Regions from separate parts of the Homo sapiens genome. Here all the other regions are linked to region 1. Evidence: promoter capture Hi-C in human tissues and cell types (Jung and others, 2019). All regions are on one chromosome and are shown on one strand. The core of a region is centred on a gene start or on the middle of the fragment in contact, and the rest is flanking DNA. Distances in the headings are between cores, read along the strand shown. Region 1 holds the start of LSM7 (LSM7 homolog, U6 small nuclear RNA and mRNA degradation associated). Region 2 holds the start of SLC39A3 (solute carrier family 39 member 3). Region 3 holds the start of ADAT3 (adenosine deaminase tRNA specific 3). Region 4 overlaps GNG7 (G protein subunit gamma 7). Region 5 holds the start of GNG7 (G protein subunit gamma 7). Region 6 holds the start of DIRAS1 (DIRAS family GTPase 1). Region 7 overlaps SGTA (small glutamine rich tetratricopeptide repeat co-chaperone alpha).

What was found. The method cuts DNA at HindIII sites, captures the fragments that hold promoters and counts their contacts. A contact is called where the count stands out against the background at its distance.
Region 2: a contact is called between the fragment with the promoter of SLC39A3 here and the fragment with the promoter of LSM7 in region 1, in 4 of the 25 tissues and cell types used here (dorsolateral prefrontal cortex, lymphoblastoid cells, mesendoderm cells and 1 more).
Region 3: a contact is called between the fragment with the promoter of ADAT3 here and the fragment with the promoter of LSM7 in region 1, in 3 of the 25 tissues and cell types used here (dorsolateral prefrontal cortex, psoas muscle and spleen).
Region 4: a fragment that was not itself captured here is called in contact with the fragment with the promoter of LSM7 in region 1 in 1 of the 25 tissues and cell types used here (IMR-90 fibroblasts).
Region 5: a contact is called between the fragment with the promoter of GNG7 here and the fragment with the promoter of LSM7 in region 1, in 2 of the 25 tissues and cell types used here (dorsolateral prefrontal cortex and mesenchymal stem cells).
Region 6: the fragment with the promoter of DIRAS1 here is called in contact with the fragment with the promoter of LSM7 in region 1 in 1 of the 25 tissues and cell types used here (lymphoblastoid cells).
Region 7: a contact is called between a fragment that was not itself captured here and the fragment with the promoter of LSM7 in region 1, in 4 of the 25 tissues and cell types used here (dorsolateral prefrontal cortex, lymphoblastoid cells, mesenchymal stem cells and 1 more).

The regions. Positions count from the first base shown.
Region 1 is chr19:2,327,288-2,329,987 of GRCh38, reverse strand. LSM7 (LSM7 homolog, U6 small nuclear RNA and mRNA degradation associated) reads left to right here and starts at 1,402. Exons shown (of 4, transcript NM_016199.3): 1 at 1,402-1,427; 2 at 1,511-1,601. The coding sequence starts at 1,422. It overlaps SPPL2B (signal peptide peptidase like 2B), which reads right to left and starts at 1,304. Exons shown (of 15, transcript NM_152988.3): 1 at 1,213-1,304. The coding sequence starts at 1,278. RefSeq lists silencers at 1,018-1,277, 2,298-2,397 and enhancers at 1,488-1,537, 1,548-1,597, 1,033-1,687, 1,968-2,027. The HindIII fragment of the contact is 22,122 bases long and covers 1-2,700 here.
Region 2 is chr19:2,738,606-2,741,305 of GRCh38, reverse strand. SLC39A3 (solute carrier family 39 member 3) reads left to right here and starts at 1,289. Exons shown (of 3, transcript NM_144564.5): 1 at 1,289-1,361. RefSeq lists enhancers at 1,008-1,057, 1,758-1,807 and silencers at 1,118-1,517, 1,926-2,193. The HindIII fragment of the contact is 11,347 bases long and covers 1-2,700 here.
Region 3 is chr19:1,904,059-1,906,758 of GRCh38, reverse strand. It overlaps ADAT3 (adenosine deaminase tRNA specific 3), which reads right to left and starts at 1,360. Exons shown (of 2, transcript NM_138422.4): 1 at 1,320-1,360. SCAMP4 (secretory carrier membrane protein 4) reads right to left here and starts at 1,360. Exons shown (of 7, transcript NM_079834.4): 1 at 1,320-1,360. RefSeq lists enhancers at 857-946, 1,967-2,026, 2,307-2,366 and silencers at 1,107-1,256, 1,307-1,636. The HindIII fragment of the contact is 31,876 bases long and covers 1-2,700 here.
Region 4 is chr19:2,664,470-2,667,169 of GRCh38, reverse strand. All of the region lies in intron 1 of GNG7 (G protein subunit gamma 7), which reads left to right. Among named protein-coding and RNA genes, the nearest start is that of MIR7850, 35 kb to the right of the region's middle. The HindIII fragment of the contact is 9,228 bases long and covers 1-2,700 here.
Region 5 is chr19:2,701,390-2,704,089 of GRCh38, reverse strand. It overlaps GNG7 (G protein subunit gamma 7), which reads left to right and starts at 1,396. Exons shown (of 5, transcript NM_052847.3): 1 at 1,396-1,444. RefSeq lists a silencer at 1,111-1,500. The HindIII fragment of the contact is 6,266 bases long and covers 1-2,700 here.
Region 6 is chr19:2,720,103-2,722,802 of GRCh38, reverse strand. It overlaps DIRAS1 (DIRAS family GTPase 1), which reads left to right and starts at 1,431. Exons shown (of 2, transcript NM_145173.4): 1 at 1,431-1,499. The HindIII fragment of the contact is 24,571 bases long and covers 1-2,700 here.
Region 7 is chr19:2,756,005-2,758,704 of GRCh38, reverse strand. It overlaps SGTA (small glutamine rich tetratricopeptide repeat co-chaperone alpha), which reads left to right. Exons shown (of 12, transcript NM_003021.4): 10 at 923-1,012; 11 at 1,248-1,368. The coding sequence ends at 1,362. Among named protein-coding and RNA genes, the nearest start is that of SLC39A3, 17 kb to the right of the region's middle. The HindIII fragment of the contact is 7,304 bases long and covers 1-2,700 here.

The DNA of each region.
Region 1 (2,700 bases), core at 153-2,652:
GCAGAATGGGGGGAGTCCAAAGGGGGCTGACAGAGCAGCTGGGGGTAGGACTGGGGTTCTCAGAAAGCTTCCGAGGGGGCCCGACAGCCTTGCAGAGACCAGGGGCATCTCAGGGTAAGAGAAAAGACTAGAGAGTGAAGCGACTGCAATGAGCTGCAGGCTTCCCCAGCAGCCAGGTCACAACTGGACGGCGCACTCATCTGGATGCGACACGGTCTGACATACTTTGAAAGGGTCACCCCTGCTGTGTCGAGGATGGACTGGGGATGTGGTGGACAAAGGCAGCCACAGCAGAGGGATAGCGGTGGGGCTGGAGGAGTGGAGACTGAGGAGCCAGGTGGCGGCGACGCCTTAAGAGTGAGAACTCTGAGGGGGTAGTGAAGGTTAAGGGCTGCATTTGTGGGGCTGCTCCAGGTTCCATTGCCTGAGCCACCGAACTCAGGAGAGAGGGAAGATTTGGAATTAAGAAAATAAAAGATGCAGTTATGACAGTGCGATCTCGTAGACTGTCCCCACTAGAACCTGACACTCTTTACATCAAATGACACACAATGAACATAATGAAGGCCTGTTGGCCCTGGGCGCTGGTCACCCTGGACAGAACCTCCAGAATCCACACCATAGTCGGTCCTCCTTCTGCACACGAATTCCATCGTCCAAGGTCACGGAGTAAAAGATGGAGCGGGGATCCGACCCCAGTGCAGGGCTGGACTCCTGGCCGCTCCAGGATGCTGCCAGTTACTGGGGGACGCGCGGGACGCCTCTGGGTTCCCCCACCGCACCCCCTAGGGTGAGGTTAGCTTAGCACCGTGCCCGTTCCGCCTAAGGGGAAACTGAGGCTCGGAGAGGGGTGGGCAGCCGCCTGCTCAAGGCCACAGAGCCGGAGAGAGGCGTCCCCGGCGGCAACTGGAGACCCCGAAACGGAGAAGCAGAACCGGAGGATGGAGGGGGCACAAATTTCAGACCCGGTGGGAAGTGAGTGGCGCTGCAGCGGCGGAGGGCCTCCGAGGCGGGGAAAGGAGAGGAGCCGGGGACAGACCCGCAAGGTCACGGCCGAGCCCCGGCACCGCCGGCCGACAACGCGGGGACGGCGGATCCCCGAGGCTGGACCCCCAAGACGGGCCGAGCGGGGTCGTTCCTGCGCGTAGCCCGGGGACAGAGAGGCCGAAGGGCCGCAGCCCGCGGTGCCGTCGGGACCGGTGCCGCGCTCACCTGGGCCGCGAGGAGCAGAAAGGCCGCCAAAAGCCGCGCCAGCGCAGCCGCCACCGCTGCCGCCATGTCGGCCGGTGCCCGCCGCAACCAACGGCAGATGTTTCCCAGCAACGCCCCGAGACCCCGGGCCACGCATGCGCCGCGCATGCGCGTGGGGGAGGTCAAAGGGCGCGGGGCGGTGCCTGCGAAGAGCCACACGGCGCGACAAGATGGCGGTGAGCGCGCGGCGGAATCTGGAGCCGGGGGGCGTGGAGCTCGGGCCGCGCTCCAGGTCTCATGCGCTCTGCTTTCCCCGCAGGATAAGGAGAAGAAGAAAAAGGAGAGCATCTTGGACTTGTCCAAGTACATCGACAAGACGATCCGGGTAAAGTTCCAGGGAGGCCGCGAAGGTGAGGAGGCTCCCGCTGTCGGTACCCCCTCTTTAAAAATTTCAAATAAACCCAGCAACAGAGATGATGAGGACGCATGCGGAAGCACCTCTTTTATTTATTTTCATTATTTTTTTTGAGACGCAGTCTCGCTCTGTCACCCGGGCTGGAGTGCAGTGGTGCGATCTCAGCTCACTGCAACCTCCGCCTCCCAGGTTCAAGTGATTCTTGTGCCTCAGCCTCCCGAGTAGCTGGAATTAATGTGTACCACCACGCCCGGCTAATATTTGTATTTTTAGTAGAGAGGCCATGTTGGCCAGGATGGTCTCAAACTCCTGGCCTCAAGCGATCTGCCTGCCTCAGCCCCCTAAATTGCTGGGATTTCAGGCATGAGCCACCATGCCCAGCCTAGCATTTTTGACTGGGCAAGTGAGCTGCCTTCTCCTAGCCTCCGTTTCCTCATTTGTCAAATGGGGCTGGTAACTCCACCCACTTCACAGGGGGTGGTGAGAATGAATGGTTACAGGCATGTAATGTAATTGAGGCAGCTCTCAGCAGGAAGTAAGCAGTCAGACAACACGTCACTTATTCAATAGCCTCTTGGATCTTTGGTTTCTTTTTTTTGTAAGACGGGGACCCAAACCTCTTTGTCCCTGGATTGTAGACAACTGGGTGGCATGAGAGTTATTAAAAATCACAGTGCCCCAGCCGGACGGGGCGGCTCACGTGTGTAATCCCAGCAATTTGGGAGTCTGAAGCAGGAGGGTGGCTTCACCCTAGGGTTTGAGGCTGCAGTGAGCTATGACCGCACCACTGCACTCCAGCCTGGGCCACAGAGCAAGGCCCAGTCTCAAAAGAGAAAAAGGAGGCCAGGCACAGTGGCTCATGCCTTTAATCTTGACACTTTGGGAGGCCGAGGCAGGCAGATCAGGAGGTCAGGAGATCAAGACCATCCTGGCCTACGTGGTGAAACCCTGTCTCTACTAAAATACAAAAAGTTAGCTGGGCATGGTGGCGCACGCTTGTAGTCCCAGCTACTCGGGGGGCTGAGGCAGGAGAATTGCTTGAACCCCAGAGGCGAGATTGTGCCACCGCACTCCAGCCTGGCGATAGGGCAAGA
Region 2 (2,700 bases), core at 40-2,539, 410 kb before region 1:
CCCTCTTCCATGATCACGTTCATGGCTGTTGGTAGCATTTGGTTCCTTATGGACGCTTGTGCTGAGGGTCTCATTGCCTTGCTGACTGTTGGCTGGAGGACACCCTCAGTTCCTTTCCCTCTGGATCTCTCCAGCATCTTAGCTTGCTTTGTCAAGACACGTAGGCTGAGAAGGCGAGAGACAGGCTCTGCTGGCAAAACAGAAGTCACAATCTCTCATAGCCTAATCGCAGAATGACATCCCATTCATTTGCCATTTTCTATTTGTTAGAATCAAGTCATCAGGCCAAGCGCAGTGGCTCATGCCTGTAATCCCAGCACTTTGGGAGGCCAAGGTAAGAGGATCACCTGAGGTCAGGAGTTCAAGACCAGCCTGGCCAACATGGTGAAACCCCGTCTCTACTAAAAACACAAAAATTAGCCGGCATAGTGGCACACGCCTATAATCCCAGCTACTCGGGAGGCTGAGGCAGGAGAATCGCTTGAACACGGGAGTCGGAAGTTGCAGTGAGCCAAGATCGCGCCATTGCACTCCAGCCTGAGTGACAAGAGCGAGACTCTGTCTCAAAAAAAACCTTTTTTTTTTTTTTAGAGATGGGGTCTCACTATGCTGCCCAGGCTGGCCTTGAACTCCTGGACTCAAGCGATCCTCCCGCCTCGGTCTCTTAAAGTGCTGAGATTACAAGTGTGAGCCACTGCGCCCTGCCAAGATTTGGTTTTTAACTTACGCGTTACCTCCTATACTTATTTTTTCATGGTTTGAACATGTAACATCTACTTTCTTAGCAATTTTGCAGTATGCAATGCATTGTTACGAGCTGTAGCCACCATGATGTACAGTCGATCTCTTGGACTTACTCCTCCTGCCTATCAACAGAGATTTGTTGAAGGGATGAATCTGCTTCTTCAGCCGTCGGTAAGGGGATCAGCAGCGAGGACGCTGAGAGAGGAGCCGCCTCCGTTGGAAATCCCTTCCCATCCACCTCCAAGCCTCTTTCCAAGCGGGATTCAGCACCAGGCGCCCCTGGACAGCTCTGGAAACCCAACCCTGCCGGAACCGTTCCTCGCCAATCCGGGTTTCCCGCCGGGGCCGCTTGGTGGCTGCGCCCGCCGCTCAGCGGGAGGAAACCCCTTTCCTGTGCCGGTAGGAGAGGTGGAGTCGCATATGAGTGGCAGGTTTCGCAGCCAATAGTATGGAAAGTTCTGCCAGCGGGTCTCGGGGAGGCCAATGGGCAGGGGCGTGGGCGGGGCGTGGACCAGCCGCGCCGAGCGGGGCCTCTCCGGGCCGCGTCTGTGGGGTCGAGACTGCGCGGCCGTTGGGCGTGCAGCGGCGCCAGTCGGCGGACGAGGGGCCCCCGGGAGGTAGGTGCGGGCAGAGAGAGGACCTGGGGCGGCGGGGCGGGGCGGCGCTGAGCGGCCGGGGGTCTGTTGGACTCTACCCGCACGTTAGCCGAGGCCCGTCTCCGGTGCCCGGTAGCGCGAGGCACACAGAAGGCGCTCAATAAGTGCTGATTGAATGAATGAGCCCGTGCCCTCCTCATCCCGGCCCGAGCAGCCTCCGGTTTGAGAGCGTGCAGGCCACCCTCACCTTCACTGTACAGACTGAGGTATCCAGATGCCGGACAGGTCTTTATTGGGCGCCTACTGTGTGCCTGGGTGGCTCTGCGCTGGGTGCAGCTGGCCCTGAGCAAGACAGACAGCCTGGTCCCGCCCAGCTCACCGCCGGGGGGGAGGGACGACTTTAAATGACTTAAAATAATGTAATTCCTAGCTCCCTCTGTAGCACAAAATAAAAGAAAATAACACCAGGGAAGGGGGCGGGGAGAGCTCTGAGTGGAGACATCTGAGCAGTGACCCGAAGACCTGAATGCAGTGAGGTAGCGGGGCCATGAGGCGCTTGGGGCTGATGGTGGGGGAGAAAACCCAGTTGGGGAAAACTCAAGGACAGGGGAGGAGCTGAGATTCCTCCTAAGAACGGTGACATTTTGGGGTCCAGGGTGAAACCGACTTCACTTTGGCCCATTGCATCAGGTAAAATGCGGCCCTTATCAGTGGCCACACGCTTCCCCTCGTCCATGTGTTCAGCCAGCGGTTTTTGAGTATCTGTTCTGCAGCAGGCCTTCCGGCGGGTACAGGGATATGGTTTAGGGCAGGAGTCAGCCAGGGGCAGAGAGGGAGGCCCTTTTTTTTTTTTTTTTTTTTTTTTTGAGACGGAGTCTTGCTCTGCAGCCCAGGCTGGAGTACAATGGCGCGATCTCGGCTCACTGCAAGCTCCACCTCCTGGGTTGAAGCAATTCTCCTGCCTCAGCCTCCCGAGTAACTGGGATTACAGGCACGTACCACCATGCCCAGCTAATTTTTTTTTTTTTTGAGACAGAGTCTTACTCTGTCACCCAGGCTGGAGTGCAATGGCTTGATCTTGGCTCACTGCAACCTCCACCTCCTGGGTTCAAGTGATTCTCCTGCCTCAGCCTCCCAAGTAGCTGGGATTACAGGTGCCCACTACCACACCCAGCTAATTTTTGTATTTTTAGTAGAGACAGTGTTTCACTGTGTTGGCCAGGCTGGTCTTGAACTCTCGACCTCAGGTGCTGGTCTCGAACTCTCGACCTCAGGTGATCTGCCCACCTCAGCCTCCCAAAGTGCTGAGATTACAGGTGTGAGCCACCACTCCCAACCGAGGGAGGCCCTTTTGAGGGGT
Region 3 (2,700 bases), core at 111-2,610, 420 kb after region 1:
CTGCCTCAGCCTCCTTTGGGAGTAGCCGGGACCACAGGCGTCCACCACCATGCCTGGCTTTTTTTTATTTTTAGTAGAGACAGGGTTTCACCGTGTTAGCCAGGATGGTCTTGATCTCCTGATCTCGTGATCCACCCGCCTTGGCCTCCCAAAGTGCTAGGATTACAGGCGTGAGCCACCACGGCCGGCGCTACACGTATGTATTTTATTTATTTATTTAGAGACAGGGTCTCGCTCTGTTGCCCAGGCTGGAATGCAGTAGTGCCATCACAGTTCACTGCAGCCTCAACCTCCGGGGCTCAAGCAATCCTCCTGCCTCAGCCTCCCAAGTAGCTGGGACCACAGACATGTGTCACCATGCCTGGCTTATTAAAAAAAAATCTTTTTTTCTTTTTTTTGGAGAGTGAGTCTTGCTAGCTTGCTCAGCCTGGAGTACAATGGTGCCATCTTGGCTCACTGCAACCTCCACCTCCCAAGTCCAAGCGATTCTCCTGCCTTGGCCTCCCCAGTAGCTGGTTTTACAGGCGCGTGACACCACGCCCAGCTAATTTTTGTATTTTTGGCAGAGATGGAGTTTCACCATGTTAGACAGGCTGGTCTCGAACTCCGGACCTCAGGTGATCCACTCGCCTTGGCCTCCCAAAGTGCTGGGGTTATAGGGTGAGGAACTGCACCCAGCCGTCCTTGTTTCCACGGAGTCGATCCTCTGTTTCTGGCCACCCTACAAGGAGGCCTTCTCTGCAAGACAGCGGGGAACCTCGGTCCTCGGGGTAGTGTGTGGGAGATAACTGGGGGCCTGTGATACAAAAACCTGAAAAACTCATACTCTAGGTAACGATGAGGAACGATGGTCAATTCTGGGGATGTACCAAGGCCTAGGGGAATCTCCACATAAAGGCGAATCAGAGCTGGGGAGGAAGGACGCGAAGGCTACGGAAACTCGCGAGAGCGCGGTTCAGAGGCAGGGGACTGCGGGACATGACCTGAGGAAGGGCCACCGGAAGCAGCTGGAGGATACGGGGTCTCCCGCACCGACCATAAGGGCGCACACGCGCAGAAAGGCGCTAGGCCCGGGGGAGCGCGGTCCTGAGGCTTCCCCCAGGCCAGCGCCGCGCGCGCGCGCGCACGCGCATTCGCGCCGCCTCCCCGCGTCGCCCACCGGCCCGCCCGAGACGCGCGCGAGGCTGGCCTGGGCCCCCCGTTTTCTCCCCACAAACGGCCGGCGCCCCTCACCGCCGAGACCCCCCATGTCAGCCCCTACTCCCCCTCTGGGGAAGTCTGAGCCTGGAGAACCCGAGACCTCGGGGCCGCGCGCTTACCTGAGGGATCCGGGCGCGAGCGCAGCGCTTCGCCAAGTCTTAGCAACCGGCCCGGCCCAACCCACCTCACCCCGCCTCGTCTCCGCCTGGAGCCGCGGAGCACGACGGGAGCGTAGTTCCAGGGGCGGGATCTTCGCCAGGCCAAGGTGGGGCAAGGACTACAATTGCTAGTAGGCACTGCGCGCCGCCGCCTCGCCCCGCCCCGCTCCGGCACTGCGCTCACATGACCTCCGGGCGGCGGGAGGGGAGGAGAGGCGGGGCCGCTGCGCTGGGCGAGCGCTGAGTTTGCAGGTTCGAATCCCATCAAGCGGCCAGGGAAAACTCGGAACCCGGGGGATCTTTGGAAGGTTAGCAGAGTGGGAAGGATGAGGCAGAGGGGGTATATGACACCCGTCCCCTGAGTCCGGGATGGGGCCAGGTTCCAGTTCTGCCTGTTACTGCACTCCGGCGTGGGCCGCCCTCAGGTTTGAGTTTTCTCACCAGTAACGTAGGTGAAGAAGACCTCTTGCCTCTCCTGGGCCAAACAAGCACATTTTTTTTTTTTTTTTTGAGACGTAGCCTCAGTCTGTCACCCAGGCTGGAGTGCAGTGCTAGGCTCACTGCAACCTCCACCTCCTGGGTTCAAGCGATTTCTGGCTAGTTTTTGTACTTTTAGTAGAGAAGGGGTTTCACCAAAACATGCATATTTTATGAGCAATTTGTTACTCCTTCCAGTTGGACAGGTTTAACCAAGTGGTTCTCAACGGGAGGGAATTTGTCATCCCCTCCCCCAACAGCTTGACAGTGCCTGGCTGTAACCAGCTCAGGCTCCGATGCCAGAGTCTTGACAAACCAGTAAGGAGGAAAAAGTGCAGTGAAAGGAAGGTGACTTCCTTTCAGAGTTCGCAGCAGGGAGGCAGCTGGTTTAGGCCTCCAGAAACCCCTTCAAACTTGAGGCTGGGGTGAGGGGCTAAAAAAGGGGAACTGGGAATGGTGGGTGTGCAGGGGAGGTGCTGATTATAAGCTCTGTGTGTTCATGAATTTTGGTGGCTTAAAAGCGCAGGCTGGCCTCATCCTAATAAGGGCCGGGTTGCAGACCACCTTGAGGAAATCTCTGGGATTTTGCAGGTGGGTCTCCGTGCTTGGCCTGTCTCCAGATTAGCTCTAAAACGTTCTTTCTTTTTTCTTTTTTTTCGAGACAGTCTCGCTCTTGTCACCGAGGCTGGAGTGCAGCAGCACGATCTCAGCTCACCGCAACCTCCACCTCCCAGATTCAAGTGATTCTCCTGCCTCAGCCTCCCGAGTAGCTGGGATTACAGGCACACGCCACCACACCTGGCTAATTTTGTATTTTTAATAGAGATGGGGTTTCTCCATGTTGGTCAGGCTGGTCTCAAACTCC
Region 4 (2,700 bases), core at 49-2,548, 340 kb before region 1:
GTATTTTTAATAGAGACGGGTTGGGTTTCACCATGTTAGCCAGGCTGGTCTCGAACTCCTGACCTCAAGTGATCCACCCGCCTCAGCCTCCCAAAGTGCTGGGATTACAGGCGTGAGCCACCGCGCCCGGATGAGTGTGTGTTTTGTGTGAAGGGATGCTCTGTGCTAACTCTGCCGTGTGATGTTGAGGATCGGAGGTGAATCTTTTTTGACAGGACCCTCATCTAATTTCAGGATGGAAGACTGGAACACTGCCTAGATGAGAGTATTTAGTTGCTGAAATGGTGCTATTTTGTCTTAGACTGTTTTGCGAGGGTCTCAACCAATGGCCTTGGGGGCAAATCCAGGCCACCTGTTACTATAAATAAAGTTTTATTGGCACACGATGGGCCATGCCCATTTATTTATGCATAGTCTATGGCTGCTTTCAAAATACAACAGCAGAACTGTGTAGCTGCAACAGAGAACATATGTTCCGTAAGGCTGAAAATTTTTACATCCTGCCCTAGACAGAAACACTTTGCTGTGCTCTGGTCTAGTCCAGAAAGGAGGTAATCTGGCCAGGCAAGGTGGCTCACACTTGTAATCCCAGCACTTGGGGAGGCTGAGCAGGGAGGATCGCTTGAGCCCAGGAGTTCAAGGCCAGTCTGGGCAACATAGCAAGATCCTATCTCTATGAAAAGTAAAAACTAAAAAAGCAGGCATGGTGGCTCACACCTATGTAATCCCAGGACGTTGGGAGGCTGAGGTGGGCAGATCACCTGAGGTCAAGAGTTTAAGACCAGCCTGGCCGACATGGCGAAACCCCATCTCTACTAAAAATACAGAAATTAGCCGGGCATGTTGGCAGGTGCCTGTAATCCCAGCTACTCGGGAGGCTGAGGCAGGAGAATCCCTTGAACCCGGGAGGCTGAGTTTGCAGTGAGCTGAGATCGTGCCACTGCACTCCAGCCTGGGCGACAAGAGCAAGACTCTGTCTCAAAATAAAAATGAATAAATAAATACAATAAAAATTAAAACATAAGCCGGGCACGGTGGCACTTTGGGAGGCTGAAGCAGGCAGATCACCTGAGGTCAGGAGTTCGAGACCAGCCTGACCAACATGGTGAAACCCTGTCTCTACTAAAAATACAAAAATTAGCTGGGCGTGGTGGCGGGCGCCTCTAATACTGGCTATATGGGGGACTGAGGCAGGAGAATCACTTGAACCCGGGAGGCAGAGGCAGTGAGCCAAGTTCGCACCACTGCACTCTAGCCTGGATGACAGAGCAAGACTCCATCTCAAAAAATAAGTAAAATAAATTGAAAAAGAATAATAAAAGGAGGTAATCCAGGTTCTAAATAATAAAGCCAGTATGTGCCATGACCCATGGCTCAGACACCACTTTAAACATTTTATAGATACTCATTTATGTAATCTCCAAAACCAGTCTCACAGGGTGGATGCTGCTTCGATGTGCATTCTACAGAGTGGGAAACTGAGGCACAGCGACAGTGGCAAGGGACTGAAGGTCACCCAGCCAGACAGCGAGTCGTGAAGTCAGAATGGAGTAGCTCTTGTCCAGCACTCCACCTTGGCCATACCAGAGCGTACGTCCCCACCCAATCCTTCCTCGGGACTCAGTGGAGCTATTTTCACATTGAGGGGAAATAGAAATCCGTTCGTTCTCATTTTCTTTCTTTTTTTTGTCCCGCATGGCCCTCTTCCCAAATCCTTGTTGCCCGTCTCACCAGACATTCCAGTTCCAAGAGGTGGGGTGTGGCGAGGACTGTCCAGCACGGCAGGGTGATCCTGCCCCCCCCCCCCCAGGGGACACTGGGCCATGTCTGGGGACATTTGTGGCTGTCACCATTGAGAAGTGCTCCGGGCATGCAGTGGCTGGAGGTCACGGATGCCGCTCAGCGTGCTGCAGTGCTCAGGACGGCTCCATCCCAGAGAATGGTACAGCCCCAGTGTCCACCGTGCCTGGGAGGAGAGACTCAGCATTCATTATTTGGAGAAGAAATGGAGTCTGCTTCCTGCTCACCAGGACACACTCCTGATGGGGCAGACGGTGTAAACCAGGGGACCCCAGCTCGTGGGATTCACCTCCTCTCTCCCTCCCCCCAACTAAAGGTGTGGATTTCAATGTGTGCAGCCTCCTGGGACCTCAGCAGGACAGAAGATCAGGGGACAGAGTATCTTGGGGGTCCGTGGAATTTCCTAATTCAGGGGGTGTCAACTGAGGGTGATTCTGCCCCAGGGGACACTGGGTGTTGTCTGAGGACATTTGTCGTTGTCACAACTTGAGGATGGTCGTGGCGTGGAGTGGGTGGAGGCCAGGGACACTGCTCAGCACCCTGCAGTGTCCGGGACAGCTGCACCCTAGAGAATGACCCAGCTCTGAATGTCCACGGTTTCCAGGGGAGAGACCTTGCATTAACTGGCAAAAAAATGAGTTTGCTCCCTGCTCACAGTAGACACCAGAATAGATTCCCGATGGGGCAGACGGTGTCAGCCGGGGCCATCCTCCCAGAGTGACCTAGAGGACTGGGTGAGGAGGGTCTCTAGAGCACTGAGGGTGCAGGACACAGAGCCAACCGTCTGATTGTTCCTTCCCCCTCCTTGACCTCGGCTCACAGAGACCTTGAACCCTCAGGGTCAAGCAGGCCTGCCCCTTTGTTCTGTGTGCCCCAGGGTGCAGTGGAGCCTGTTCCAGG
Region 5 (2,700 bases), core at 147-2,646, 370 kb before region 1:
TCCTCTTGGGGGATGCCAGCTGGGGAGAGCCTGGAGGAGGGCAAGCAGGGAGATGGAGGTTTCTCTGTGCCCTGCAGGGCAGGCCACTGGAGTCCAGAGGATGAGCAGGGAGGTTCTTGCAGGGATGACAGGAACCCTGGGGAAGTTTATCTTGGATTTTGGCCAGCAGCTCCAATCCCAGGGCTCAGGTGGGGCGGCAAGGACACACAGTGTCAGCGCCTGATGAAATCCCTGAGGTCACAGAATATGGTGGCTCCATCTTCCTTCCAGGGCTGTGTACTGCTTTTGGAGACATACAAAGTGTTTTCCAATATTCCCAAGGGAGCTTGTGGAAAATGAAGATTCCAGGCCTGTAATCCAAGCATTTTGGGAGGCAGAGGCAGGAGAATCACTTGAGCCCAGGAGTTCAAGACCAGTTTGGGCAACATAGCAAGACCCCATCTCTAACAAAAAAAAATTAGCCAGGGCCAGGCACGGTGGCTCACGCCTGTAATCCCAGCACTATGGGAGGCCAAGAAAGGTGGATCACCTGAGGTCAGGAGTTGGAGACCAGCCTGGCCAAAACGGTGAAACCCTGTCTCTACTAATAATACAAAAATTAGCTGGATGTGGTGGTGCGTGCCTGTGGCCCCAGCTACCCGGAAGGCTGAGGTGGAAGGACTGCTTGAGCCTGGGACTTCAAAGCTGCAGTGAGCTATGACTGCACCACTGCAGTCCAGCCACGGCAATTGAGTGATACCCTGTCTCAAAAACAAAACGAAAACTAAACAAAACACAGATTTCAGGGTCCAGTTCCCTATAGGATTCTGGTTCATTCCATCTGTGTTGGGGCTCAGGAATTTGTGGATCCAGGGCCATGAGTTAGGAAACTGAGAAATCTTGGAAATGATGAGACAGGCTTGGGCAAATGACCTTAGGTTTCACCTTTCTGAGACCCAGTTTCCACCTCTGTAAAATGTGGATAGTAATCTCGCCTTCTGGCCTTATGCGGAGGGTCCCACGAGAGGGAGCCTATAAAGTCTTCAAGAAAGCGGTGCAGCAGTTATGATCACTGACATTCTTCCCCAGCAAATGAGCCCCCGGAGCTGGCATGCAGGATTCGAACCAGCTCACCTAGCGCGGGATTCGAACTCGCGAAACTACTCGCGCCTTCCTGACGTCACGAAGTCACCCTGGAAAGCCGCTCTTCGCCCCGCCCCCGGCCCCGCCCGCGCCCGGAGCCCCGCCCCACTCTCCTGGGCGCAGCCTACCCCGCTGCCTGCCCCGCGCCCCGCCCCCGCTCCGGCCTCCCGCAGCCGGGGCTCGCGATTGGCCTTGCCGGGACGCCAGGGCCCGCCCCCCGAGTGTCGGCCCCGCCCCCGCAGAGGGGAGCGAGCGCTCGCGGGCCGGGGCGGAGGGTTCGGCTGCGCGGCGGGGCTGAGGCGGCCGCGGGGCCCGAGCGCAGGTAAGGGCGCCCGCGAACCGGGCCAGGGGAAGTGAGGGCGCGGCCGGCGTCCCGGAGAGGGGACTGGGACAGCTCGGATTCGGCTGCGGACCGAGTTGGGGGTCGGAGTCGGCTGAGGAGGGGGGCTGGGTCTGGGGACCCGGGCTGCAACTGGAGGCTGGGGTTGGAATTGGGGACGGGGCTGCGCTTAGGGGGTCGAAGTTAGCTGGGGAGGGGCTGGGGTTGGGGATTGGGACTGCACTTGGGGCTCAGGGCTAGCTGGGGAGGGGGCGGGAGTTGCAGGTCGAGGTTAGCTGGGGACGGGGCAGGGGGTGCAGATCGAGGTTAGCTGGGGAAGGATTGGGTCTGGGCATTGGGACTCCACTTAGAAATCAGGGCCAGCTGGGGAGGAGGCTGGAGTTGCAGGTCCAGGTTAGCTGGGGAGGGGGCTGGAGGTGGGATTGGAGGTCTGAGTTAGCTGAGGAGGGGGCTGGGGGTGAGACTGGAGGTCTGAGTTATCTGGGGAGGGGACTGGAGTTGCAGGTCGAGGTTAGCTGGGGAGGGAGCTTGGAGCGGGATTGGAGGTCTGAGTTGGCTGGGGAGGGGTCTGGAATTGCAGGTCCAGGTTAGCTAGGAAGGGGCTGGTGGTGGAATTGGAGGTCTTGAGTTTGCTGGGGAGGGGGCTAGAGTCGCAGGTCGAGGTTAGCTGCCGAGGGGGCTTGGAGTGGGATTGGAGGTCCAAGCTAGCTGGGGAGGGGGCTGGAATTGTAGGTCGAGGTTAGCTGGGGAGGGGGCTGGAAGTGGAATTGGAAATCTGAGTTAGCTGGGGAGGACGCTGGGGATGGTGTTGGGGGTTGAGGTTAATTGGAGCGGGGAACAGGGGTTGAGTCAAGGGTGCAGCTTCTTTGAAGAGGGAGCTGGGAGTGGGGTTGAGGTTTGCAGGGAGCTGGAGAGGGGGCTGGGGATGGAGTTTGAAGTGGGGTTCATTGGAGAGGGGGCTGCAGAGGGAATTAGATGTTGAGGTTGTCTGGGGAGAGGACTGAGGAATGGGGTTGGTGAAGATGGGGGGGTGTGATTGACGGCCCAGGGGTTAGGGTTAGCTGAAAAGGGGCAGAAGGACAAAGCTGGGGTGAGCCAGGGAGTGGCTGGAGCATACAGGTGGGGGTCAGGCTTGTTCCAGAAAGGGTCTGGGGGCTATCAGGGGAAATGGGGAGCTTGTGAGTGTGTGGGGTGGAAGGGGGTTCAGGGAGAAGGAAGTTGGGGTGAGTTAGTGAGAA
Region 6 (2,700 bases), core at 182-2,681, 390 kb before region 1:
TGGATGCCAGGCTGAGAAGCTGGACCTTGGCCTGGGAGAAGGGAGCCATGGGTGGCGTTAGAGCAGGGGAGGCCCATGTTGCAGTTGGAGCATTGAGTGGCAGAGTGGAAGGAGGGCTGGAGGAAGGGGTCTGGAGGCCAGGAGGGGGAGTGGGGTCAAATCAGGGAGAAATAGAGCTCCTTGAGCCCCAAAGCCGCTTGAACCTCAGTGCCCCAGCCTCAGTGGCAACAGGAGAGGGGACTGAGTGGTCTTGGAGGCAGTGCCAAGTCTCCGCAGAGGCAGATGGGCCCACCTCATCCAGGGCCATGGAAATGGTGGGTCATGGAGAACCCCAGGAGCTGAGGGCCCAAGGGGTTCACCTGCTCACAGGCCTGGTGATGGGGAGCTCACCACCTTCCAGACCAGCCTCTCACCCACTGATGGCTCTGACTCTGGAGAGACCCCTGTGGGTCCCAGAGTTGGCCTCTCCACCAAGGGGCGCCTTCCTCTGACAGCCTTGCGGCCTGGGACTGTCCCGCACCCACCCCTGAGAGCACCTTCTGGCCTGGTCACTAGACCCCAAAGTCCAGTCTCCTCTGGGATCTGCCCGATGAGGCCAAAAGGAACCTCGGCCTCCCGGTCTCCAAAATGGAGGCGGAACCATGGTCTCTTGTGGACACACAGACGCATCAGAAAAGCCAGTGCTCCCCTAAGACACCTCCTGTTGGGGGAACACAAACATTTTCCTAACCGAAAACGGCAAACCCATCCGCTGCAGAGCAGCGCCAGCCCCCTTTGCTCACCCCCCACCTCCCTAGGCCTGACTGCCATGGGCTGCCTCCGCCTCCACAAAACCAGCCCTACAGAGCGCTGAGTCCGCTTCTGCCCCCATCCCGCCCCTGCCCAGGCCCCTGGGATGGGTGGGCCTCCAGGTGCACCCCATTGACCTGAACCCTCCCGCCTCTGCCCGCTTCTAAACCTGTTCATTGATTGTTGATTATCGACTTACTCATTTCACAACGCACCCCTCTGATTCCCCGCCCTGCGTGTGACCGGGCCCCAGCCGGCCTCAGGGGTCCCGTTCTGCACCCCCTTTATCCGCATTTCTGCCAAAGCCCTCCACCCCCGGCTGGACTCTGCTCCTCCCAAGCCGGGCTCCTGGCCCCCACTCGGGGTTCCCCGGGAAGCGGCCCCAGCTCCCACCCCGAGGGAGGGCGCGCGCAGGTGGCTACGTGGCAGGGCGGGGGTCCCGGATCCTGGCGACCTCTCCCACCCCGGGCGCGGGCAGGGGTCCCGCGTGGGGCGGCGGTGACCTTGGCCGGGCGGCGCGCCGGCCCCGTGGGCGCGGGTCCCCGGGGCGGGGCGGGGCGGGGCGGGGCGGGGCGGAGCGCGGGGCCCGGCGGGCGGGGACGGCGCGGGCGCGACTGCGGCGGCTCGGGCGGGCGGGGGGCGGCGGCGCCAGCGGACACCGGAGCGGGCAGGAGCAGCGGCCGCGGCGCCGCAGGGACCAGCGGGCCCAGGTAGGCGGCCCGGGGCGGGGAGGGGGTCCCTGCGCAGCCCCCAGCCGGCCGTCCTCCCCGCCGCGCGTCCCTCCTTTGTCCCGGCCCCAGCCTCCCGGGCCTTGGGGCCGGGCCCTTCCCCGCGTGGCTCCGGGGCCCCTCGCCGGGCGTCCCCCGTCCCTTCCCGCCGGGCCCGGCCGGCCCCTCCGCGCTCACCTTGGACAGCTCCCGGCCGCCTCCCCTCCCCCACCCGGAGGGCGCCCCCCTGCCGAGCCCGCCCCACCGAGGCCCACCCCGCCGCCCCTCTCCGCATTGGTCCCCTCGGGCAGGGCCTCCTCCCTCCTGCAGCCGCCTTCTTCGCCCTCCGCCCCGCTGCCCAGCCAAGCCCCTCCCTCCGCGCCCCCTCCCCGGGGTGGGCTCCTCCTCTCCACCACTGAGGTCCTCCTGAGTCAAGGGTCGCCCCTGGGCTGGCCCCGCACTGTGCCTCTGCGCCCTCGGGCCCCCTAGAGCAGGCCCTTTCTCCATCAAACCCCTCACCGGCCAGGCGGCCCTGGGTCAGACCCCCGCCCCACCCTTGGTCAGGCGTGACCCCCGCTAGACCCCTGGGTCGCGGCTCTCTCTGCTTTCCTGACCCTGAGCTTTGCTTTGACACCCCCGCCCCCACCAACCACGCCGTGCCCGGCCGGGAGCCGGGCTTCAGGGACCCAGGGCTGGGGTAGATTGGCCCTGCCTGGACGTCTGGGGGTGGGCTGCCCCGCACAGGCGGGAAACCCCAGGAGTCTAGCCAAGCAGGGTGGGCTTCCAGCCCCGCTGTGCGCCTCCACCCCCCTGCTCTGTGACCTTGAGCCAGCCCCTCCTGCTCCTGCCTCGGTGCCCACGACCCCCTCCCTCCACCCGCACCCCCCAGGCGGTGGAGGTGGGAAGTGGCGTGGGCTTCGGGGCTGTTGAGTGCAAGCGCCTTTCTGGTCAGGGATTCCAGACCCAGCGGGGAGGACAGTACTGCTCATGGGGGCTGGAGCTTCAGTGCCCGCAGCAAGGCAAAGGCTGGATCTGGGTCCACAGAACCCATGGCCATTAGGACCCCAGGCCGGTCTTGGTGGCGTCTTTCTGCACAGCAGCGTGCCCGCCTCTCAGGGCGCCCACCCAGGAAAGGGCAGGGTCTGCAGCACAGGCCGCCTCCCCCCCACCACCAGCACCCCCAGCCTCCTCCGAATGCCGAGAA
Region 7 (2,700 bases), core at 30-2,529, 430 kb before region 1:
AACGGTGCTGCTTGAGCACGGGTGTGCAATCGTCTGTGTGAATCCTGTTTTCGTTTCTCTTGGATATAAACTTCTGAGTGCACTCGCTGGCTCATAGGGTCACTCCCCAGTAAGCGCTGTGCGCACTGGGGAGCTGCTCACCTGTTTTCATGGTGAAATCTTTTTTTCTTTCTCCTTTTTTTTTTTTTGAGACAGAATCTTGCTCTGTCACCCAGGCTGGAGTGCAGTGGCAGAATCTTGGCTCACTGCAACCTCTGCCTCCCGGGATCAAGTGGGTCTTCCCAAGTAGCTGGAATTACAGGCATCCACCACCATGCCCGGCTGATTTTTGCATTTTTAGTAGAGATGGGGTTTCACCATGTTGGCCAGGCTGGTCTTGAACTCCTGACCTCAGGTGATCCACCCGCCTCAGCCTCCCAAAGTGCAGGGATGACAGGTGTGAGCCACCGCGGCTGGCCCACGGTCAAATCTTAAAGCATGGTTTCCCAGCCACAGCACCGTGGCCATTTGAGCTGGACCAGTTTCTGGAGCAGGGCCGTCCTGGGCACTGCAGGGTGCTGAGCACTGTCTCTAGCCTCCATCCACTCCATGCCAGGAGCACCCCCTGCCCCTGTCTTGGCGTAACCCAATCATGGCTGTTGCAAATGTCCGCTGCCATTGCAGGGGTCCTCTGGGGGCAGGATCACCCCCTGGCTGAGAACTACGCTCTTTAGGCCAAAGAAAGAGGGGTGTTCTGGGAAAGCAGGTGAAAGTCACAGGGTGGGTTTGGGCCCTGGAGGCCCACCAGGTGGTGAGAGAGAATCCTCTCCTGCAGGGGAAGGTGAAGGGCTGAGAGGGATTCTCTCCCGGGCCACTGCGAGGGCCTGCAGTGGGGGTGGCGGTCAGGCTGTCCCGGCTGCGAGTCACGCGCTCTCTCCTGCAGCATGTCCGGCATGATTTCGGGTGGCAACAACCCCTTGGGAACTCCCGGCACCAGCCCCTCGCAGAACGACCTGGCCAGCCTCATCCAGGCGTGAGTGGAACTGCTTCCAAGAGGACGGAGGACGTGGGCGGCGGGCAGGGCTCGCAGGCGGAAGGGAAGGAGGAGAGCGAAAGTGCTGCGTCCCCTGCTCCGAAGGGCCCAGCGTCCTCCAGCGAGGGGTCAGGCCTGTCTTTGGGGTGGAGGGCCCGAGGGGTCAGCTGGGGATGGACGGAGGCAGCAGGCAGCCTCCTGGCCCTGGCTGAGCCCCATGTGCCCTTCCCCGCAGGGGCCAGCAGTTTGCCCAGCAGATGCAGCAGCAGAACCCAGAGTTGATAGAGCAGCTCAGGAGCCAGATCCGGAGTCGGACGCCCAGCGCCAGCAACGACGACCAGCAGGAGTGACGCTGCGTGAGTGCATGGGGCCGGGGGCTGGGGGGTGGCCAGCAGGAGTGACACCACGTGAGTGCCTGGCAGTGAGGGCAGCCAGCAGGAGTGACGCCCGGGGGCTGTGGAGCCTGTCTGGACACTGGACAGCGAGTCCTGGGTGCATCCAGCTCAGAAGATCACCCTGAACCGCCCAGGCAGGTGGGGGCATCTCTGGGCATTGGGCCCCTTTCCAGGTGGCCACCAAGTCCTGCTCCCCACTCCTTTCCCATCTGTGGATCGGCGCTGGGTGGAGATTAGGGGAGAGCCACAGCTCCCTGGAAGGGCTGGTGTCTGGGGTCCCCCCTGCCTAAGGCCGCCTGCAGAAGCTCTTTGTTTCTGCAGTGTCGGGGCTGCCACCTCGGGGGTGGGGGCGAGGTCATCGAGTGGTGGAAAGGACAAGCCGGGTACCTGCCTTTGACTGCGCCCGAGCGTTCTGCCTGCATTTTGTGAGGGATTTTTTGTCCTTTTCTCACTGTGAGCAGGTGTTGCACTTACAGTTGTTTAAAAATACACTCAGTGTCCCCCATGGGTTCCAGGGGCCCGTGGCTGGCTTGGTTTCCTTCCCCAGGGGCCCCTGAGTTCAGTCCTGTCCGTCTCCAGCAGACACCGGCTTCCCAGGGGTGGGAGGCTCCCCTGAGTTCAGTCCTGTCTGTCTCCAGCAGACGCCGGCTCCCTGGGGGCGGGAGGCTCCGGGCCTCCCCAGAGGTGTTTCCATTCTGCTCCCATGTGGCCTCTTCATTTTGTCGTTGTCCCCTCCTCATATACACTCTCTTTCATTTTTAAACCATAATTACTGTAGACAAATTTAAAATACAAAAATGTTAAAAAGCAGCAAGAACAATCTTAATCTTTTTTTTTTTTTTTTGAGACCGTCCTGCTCTGTCCCCCCGGCTGGAGGGCAGTGGTGCAGTCACGTCTCACTGCAGCCTCAACCTCCTGGGCTCAAGCGATCCTCCCGCCTCGGCCTCCCAAAGTGTGAGCCGTGCATTCAGCCCAACCTTAATCTTCTCACCCAGAGCCACCAACATTAATATTTTGGCCGCCTTTTCTTCCAGTCTTCCCTTTTTTTTTTAAATAAGCTTTTATTTATTTTTCCTTTTCTTTTTTTAATAGTTGAGGTGGATTTTTTACCACCGTAACCTCATACACAAAGTACCACCATACTGTAGACCCTTCTAGGTCATGGCGATGTTCTCTGCGCCACCAGCCACACGTGGCCCCGAGTGTGTGGAACGCTTCTGGTGCAGCTGTGGCTCTGACGTTCGTTGAAATAGCCGCTGTGGCCCCTGGCTGTCCACTCTGGGCCTCTCCTGC